Regions from separate parts of the Homo sapiens genome. Here region 1 is linked to region 2. The links are contacts of gene promoters, found by promoter capture Hi-C in blood cells and fetal thymus (Javierre and others, 2016). All regions are on one chromosome and are shown on one strand. Each heading gives the region's core, a stretch centred on a gene start or on the middle of the fragment in contact. The rest is flanking DNA. Distances are from core to core; before and after follow the strand shown.

The links. Contacts are between HindIII fragments. The CHiCAGO score rates a contact against its expected background, and 5 or more counts as called.
Region 1: a contact is called between the fragment with the promoter of DGUOK-AS1 here and the fragment with the promoter of AUP1 in region 2, in 1 of 17 cell types (fetal thymus). The highest score is 7.2, in fetal thymus.

The regions. Positions count from the first base shown.
Region 1 is chr2:73,980,003-73,983,206 of GRCh38, reverse strand. It overlaps DGUOK-AS1 (DGUOK antisense RNA 1), which reads left to right and starts at 1,768. Exons shown (of 2, transcript NR_104030.1): 1 at 1,768-2,072. The HindIII fragment of the contact is 8,489 bases long and covers 1-3,204 here.
Region 2 is chr2:74,527,832-74,530,971 of GRCh38, reverse strand. AUP1 (AUP1 lipid droplet regulating VLDL assembly factor) reads left to right here and starts at 1,266. Exons shown (of 12, transcript NM_181575.5): 1 at 1,266-1,392; 2 at 1,473-1,610; 3 at 1,690-1,840; 4 at 2,037-2,221; 5 at 2,483-2,555; 6 at 2,651-2,724; 7 at 2,966-3,032; 8 at 3,134-3,140. The coding sequence starts at 1,343. HTRA2 (HtrA serine peptidase 2) reads right to left here and starts at 1,039. Exons shown (of 8, transcript NM_013247.5): 1 at 460-1,039; 2 at 151-355; 3 at 1-61. The coding sequence starts at 965. RefSeq lists enhancers at 1-142, 153-232, 263-332, 353-482, 938-1,820 and 1 more and a silencer at 873-962. The HindIII fragment of the contact is 3,652 bases long and covers 1-2,269 here.

The sequences.
Region 1 (3,204 bases), core at 519-3,018, 550 kb after region 2:
GATTATACAATTTGCCATCCTCTTTTAACTTAACATTGTACCATAGGCATTTCCCTGTTTGGTATACAGTTTTCAGAAAGTGTGACAGTGAGGTGAAGAAGATGGCTCAGGAGCCAGAGAACTCTGGCTTCCAAACCTGAATCTGCCACTTGGTAACAGTGTGACCTTGGACTAGGTACTCCATCTTCAAGGGAATCCAAGTAAAAGACTTAATATAGGGCTCAATGAATGACAACAACTAATATTGTTTAATCCATATGACAACCTTGTGAGGTAGGTACTATCATCAAACCCATTTTATGGATAAGAAAACAGATTAAATAACTTGCCCAGGATCACTCAGCTAGTAAGTTGTGGACTTTCAGAGGAGCCCAGCAGCCATCCTCTTGTATTCTGTCTGGGTAAATGGCACCAGCAAGTTACTGTGTCATTTACTCTTTGCCAGCAATCTATGAGAGGGTCATTTCATAAAGCCCTCTCGTTTAGGTAACTGGGTGAATGCTGGTGCCATTCACTGTGACAAAATGCAGAAGGAAGGATGCCTGGGGATGGAGACATTCGTGTGAAAGTGAGTGTGCAACTGAGGGGGTGAGGCCTGGGTTTGAGATTTGGGCCCCATCAGTGAGCAGACAGCGAGGCCTCAGTTGTGGAGGAGCTCATCCAGGGTGGATATGGAGTGTGAGAGGGAAAGGCTGCCAGGACAGAGCCCCAGGGAATACCAGCCCATGAGGGACAGGAGCTGAGAAGGCGCCGCCAGAGAGGTTGGAGGGAACCCAGCCAGGCTAGAGAGCTGCCTGTCATATCTTCCCGGCCTCTGGAACCTTACACTTCGGCAGTCCTGTTGCTCATTCCTTCTGCCTGGGGAAAAACCCTTCCCACCCCACCCCTTCTCAGCTACCCCTTGTACCTGCCAAATTCCCACTCATCCTGCAAGTCATAAGTGCCAGTTCCATGAAACCTCCAGCTGCTCAGATGATTCCAGAGCCCCACCCACTCTCCCTCCACAGAAGTTTGACTCTCCCTGCCTAGGAACAGTTATCTCATCGGCGCTGGGCACTGGAATGGTTTGCATGTTTCTTTCCCAGTTACTACAAACTCCTGGAAGGGTAGCACGCTGTCTTTCACCTCATAACCCTAGACCTAGCAACCAACCACTGTGTTGAATGAAGAGACGAGGTGAGTAGACCCTAATGAATGACAGACCCCAGTAACACTGAAGACCCATAGGCTTCTTTCCTGCTTTCTTTACGACTTGCACAAACTGGTCAGGGGCGCCCAAGATAAAACAGCCTAAACTCCTCAGGTCCTGCCTTCTGGTTCTCCAGCCTCCTGGGCTGCTGCGGCTATTCCCATTCACATTGCGCTCAGGGCAGGAGAGCAGCGGGGGTGGGCGTAGGGATAGGGCGAGCCCTTCCTGGGGCTGCATTAGCCTAGACGCAGTGGTTCCGCCAAGAGAGCCCCGGCACCAGCAGCATCACCATCTCCTGGGAACTGGCTAGAAATGCAAGCTCTCGGCCCCATCCTAACCCCACTGAATCAGAAACCCTGGGGGCGGGCCCAGCAATCTGTTTTAATTAGTCCGTCAGGTGAAGTCAAGTTAGAGCAGCACTGGACTACAGCAAGCGGGGGAGAAGGAAGTTCAGCACCCAGGTGGAGACTGCGATTAGGCCCCCAAGGCGCTTAGAGCAGACAGAGGGAGAGAGGCTCCTTTTAGGAGCGGGTTTGGCGGGCGCCACCCCAAGCGGCCAAGGGCGGAGCCTCTTTTAGGCGACTGCTCCCGCGAGGTCAGAGCCGGGCTGTGCCGCTGCCCCCGGGACTAGAAAGGGAAATCTCCTTGCTAGAGGAGGAAGCCCTAAGAACTCAAGGGAGATAGGGGTGGCAGGGGCATTTCCCTGGATGCCTGGAGCATGGAGGGTGCGAAATAAGGAGGCTTTCCTACCCCATTGATGAGCTGAAGTTGATTCCGCACGGGGGAGGAAAGGGACAGGAAGCATAATTGGATGTGCAAGCCTGTGGTTCTTCAGGAAGTTAACACGTGGAACTAACACTGTTGGATGCTGCTGAACTCTCAGGTGATTGATGTGACTAACCTCCTCAGGTACTTGACCTCTCTCCTCTTCAGCTAATGAGTAATTTGTCCTTATTTAAGAATGAGATTTGCGTATGGGGACCTTTTGCAGAAATGTAAATACATCCCGATATCCATACCTGGGCTTGGTTTTAAAGACTGAAGGTATTGGGAGGTTTATTTGATTTTGGATGTATTACTTCTTTGGTCATGTATTGGCTAAAAATATTATCAACTAATATTTGCATAGATCTTTCCCTTTTCAAAGCACTTCCACACACATTATCCTTCTGTCTGCACAGAGTGGCAAATACAACAAATGTGCAAATGTTAACTTTCCTTATCTATGACATAGTTTTTATTATCATCACCATTTTACAGATAAGAGAACTGGCGCTCAGTGAGGTAATTTGTCCAAGGTCATTCACTACTACATGTCAGAATCCAGGACCTACAATCCAGGACCTCTGAAATTAGCCCACGAATGCTAGAGCTGATACCAGGCAGAAGCTGGCATTTTGCTCTCAGGGAAAGGGAGGTTCATTAGTGGGTTGCTTGTGGACCTGCATTGGTGAGTGTGACACGTGTAGGATATCTATGCTATGCGTTTTTGGGTTTTTTGTTTTGTTTTGGTTTTGGGTTTTGGTTTTTTTTTTTTCTTTGAGATGGAGTCTCACTCTTGTCACCCAGGCTGAAGTGCAGTGGCGCGATCTGGGCTCACTGTAACCTCTGCTGCCCAGGTTCAAATGATTCTCCTGCCTCAGACTCTCGAGTAGCTGGGATTACAGGCACCTGCCACCGCGCCCAGCTAATTTTTGTAGTTTTAGTAGAGACTGGTCTTGAACTCCTGACCTCATGATCCACCCACCTCGACCTCCCAAACTGCTGGGATTACATGAGTGAGCCACCGCGCCCGGCTACTACGTTTTTCAATAGCCCCGCAAATGTCCTCATGTTTTATAACTAGTTTTGTGACTGCATTTTGAATTTTTTGAATCAAATAGGCTTCATTACTTGCAAGGAGAATGCAAGGGTACCCATCATAATGGAAGGAATACCCAACAGGGATAAAGGCCTTGGTGCCCCTGAGCCTTGGTTGACAGGGTGTATCAGTCAGGATCAGTTAGATTGTGCTG
Region 2 (3,140 bases), core at 17-2,516:
CAACAAACTCCCCTTGCCGGACATCAGCTGAGCGTCCCAGAGGCAGCGTGGGGAGAGGCTCCTAAGGGAGAATGGGTAAAAGAGACCTGTCATCTGAAGATGCGAGCAAATAAGCAGCTCCAACCAGACCTGGCCTACCCCAGCCCCCACCTTAGTCTGAATCCTCAGCGTTGCGATGTCTGCCACGGGATCCACAGCTGTGACCACGGCCTCATACGTGTCGCCGCTTAGCAGTCTCACACGGACTCTGCGCCGATCAGCCACCACATGGGCGTTGGTGACAATGAGCCCATCGGCAGCCACCACGAATCCTGAGCCGTTCGAGATAGGGACCTCGCGGCCCAAGAAAGGGTGCCTGAAATGGAGGGAAAGCACAGATAAGAGGAGGCTCTGACCCCTCCTACCCGCCCGCCCTCCAGCCTGTGGCTTCAGTGCCTCCCGGTCTACCCCCACCATTACCGGTCCAGGATCTCGATATAGACCACGGCAGGTGCTGTCTTCTCCACCACATCTGCGATGAAGTTGTACTGACTCCGGGGAGAAGCGGGCGGCGGGCTAGGGACGGCGGCGAGGACGGCCGGAGGACCCCGACCCCCGCCCCACAACAACAACAGCACTGCCCCCCCAGCGCCCAGCGCCACCGCCAGCCACGCGCGCGAACGGGTTCCAGAGTTCTCTGAGGCCTCCCGGGTCCTGGTATCTGGGGTCACCGCAGTCAGTTGTGCCCGGGGACCCGGGGTCCCAGACGTCAGGCATGCTCGGGGTTCAGTGACCCCAACAGACAACCGGGCCCAGAGACTGGGGGTCCCATAAGTCACTCGGGCCCGGGGGTCAGAAGTTCCTGACGTCAGCAGGGCCCGGAGGTCAGGGGTCAAACGGGGTCTCCTCCCCCAGCGAATGCCCCCCAAAGCCCGCCATGCCCGAAGGCTCCAGCCTGCACCCCGCCCCGCCCTCGGCGCAGCCATCAGCTCCGCCTTGGCTGCCTCCTCGCCCGCCCTACTCAGAGGCGGCACCCAGGACGCGAGCAGGCGGACAGTAGGACGCGGGGCACGCCGGTACCTGAAGTCCTTCAGAAGTGCACGCCGGGACCAGGATTCCGGGAGGCCGACTCCTCCCTGCCCCACGAATGCCGGGAATTGTGGTCTCCGCCGGACGCGAGTTGTGAGACGGCCCAAGGGGCCGCGGGGTATGCTGGGACCGCTAGCCCTTCCGGCGCGCCTCAGGACTTCGGGTCCCCTCACCCCGGGCGGATGCCCAAAGACTCCGCCTTCCCAAGAGCCCCTGCGGCCGGGCGCGAAAATGGCGGCGGCGGCGACGGCCGGGCGCTCCTGAAGCAGCAGTTATGGAGCTTCCCTCAGGGCCGGGGCCGGAGCGGCTCTTTGACTCGCACCGGTAAGAGACCCGGCGGGAAGAGACCGATCCCCGCGTGCTCTCGGCCTTCGGCGCCTGACCACTTCGCCTCTCGCCCCCAGGCTTCCGGGTGACTGCTTCCTACTGCTCGTGCTGCTGCTCTACGCGCCAGTCGGGTTCTGCCTCCTCGTCCTGCGCCTCTTTCTCGGGATCCACGTCTTCCTGGTCAGCTGCGCGCTGCCAGACAGCGTCCTTCGCAGGTTCCGACGCGGGCGTTCGGGGAGTGTCAGAGCTGGGTCTGGCCCGAGGCCACACAGTCACCACCTCCTGTGTCCCCAGATTCGTAGTGCGGACCATGTGTGCGGTGCTAGGGCTCGTGGCCCGGCAGGAGGACTCCGGACTCCGGGATCACAGTGTCAGGGTCCTCATTTCCAACCATGTGACACCTTTCGACCACAACATAGTCAATTTGCTTACCACCTGTAGCACCGTGAGTGAGAGCGAGGCCGAGAGCGCCACGGGGCGGTTCCCTGGGGCCCAGCTGAAGGCCCCCCTGTCCCCACTCGCGTTCCCCATGGAGGATACTGAGCCTTACCCCTAACCCCGATCCTCTACCCAACATGTCAGTTTTTTTTTTCATTTTCCTCAATATTTTTCTTCTTGCTTTCTCTTCTCCTGGTTCCCAGCCTCTACTCAATAGTCCCCCCAGCTTTGTGTGCTGGTCTCGGGGCTTCATGGAGATGAATGGGCGGGGGGAGTTGGTGGAGTCACTCAAGAGATTCTGTGCTTCCACGAGGCTTCCCCCCACTCCTCTGCTGCTATTCCCTGAGGAAGAGGCCACCAATGGCCGGGAGGGGCTCCTGCGCTTCAGGTGGGTTTAGCACAGGTATGGGGCGCCAGCTGGGTAGGTGGTCAAGCTTGTGGGCCCTTGAGTTTTTACAACTTTCTTCGGCCCTTAGACCCCATCATCTCCAGTTCATTTCCTTTCTGTCCACTTTAAGTTCTTTCTCCTGAATCCCTTCATTCTTCAATTATGTGCTTGTAGAGTTTGACAGTTGCCTGTTATAAGGCAGGTGTGAGCTGCTGACTAGGCTGGCTGGATTCCCATCCTACTTTCTCCTTCCTCTTCTAGTTCCTGGCCATTTTCTATCCAAGATGTGGTACAACCTCTTACCCTGCAAGTTCAGAGACCCCTGGTCTCTGTGGTGAGTGTGTGTTGAACAGGGAATCTCTGGGGCTTGAAGGGGAAATTTCCCATCCCTGGCCCTGGCTTAGGCCTCATCTCATGCCCTCCCCTCAGACGGTGTCAGATGCCTCCTGGGTCTCAGAACTGCTGTGGTCACTTTTCGTCCCTTTCACGGTGTATCAAGTAAGGTATTAACTGTCCTCACATTTTGGTCGCTGGGGAGAGGCTCACCTCAAGGTCAAGGAATTAGTGGCCTCTGCCCTGTCCATTTGTAGATCTTTATATCAAGGTTCTACCACAGAGGCAACACAAAGTATTTACAGTATTTACTATTTTCCCACCCACCATGCAAAGAGGTACCAAAGTGGGGAATGGTGACAGCCTCTACCCTGGGTGCCCACAACATAGCCCTGGATTGTTTCTTTGCAGGTGGCTTCGTCCTGTTCATCGCCAACTAGGGGAAGCGAATGAGGAGTTTGCACTCCGTGTACAACAGGTGGTCGGGTGCACAGACAGGGTGGAGGCGGGGTCCCTGCTTAGGAGGAGAGGGAGGAAAGCTTGAGATCTTGACACTTCCAGTCTTCCAATTCTCCCTAGCTGGTGG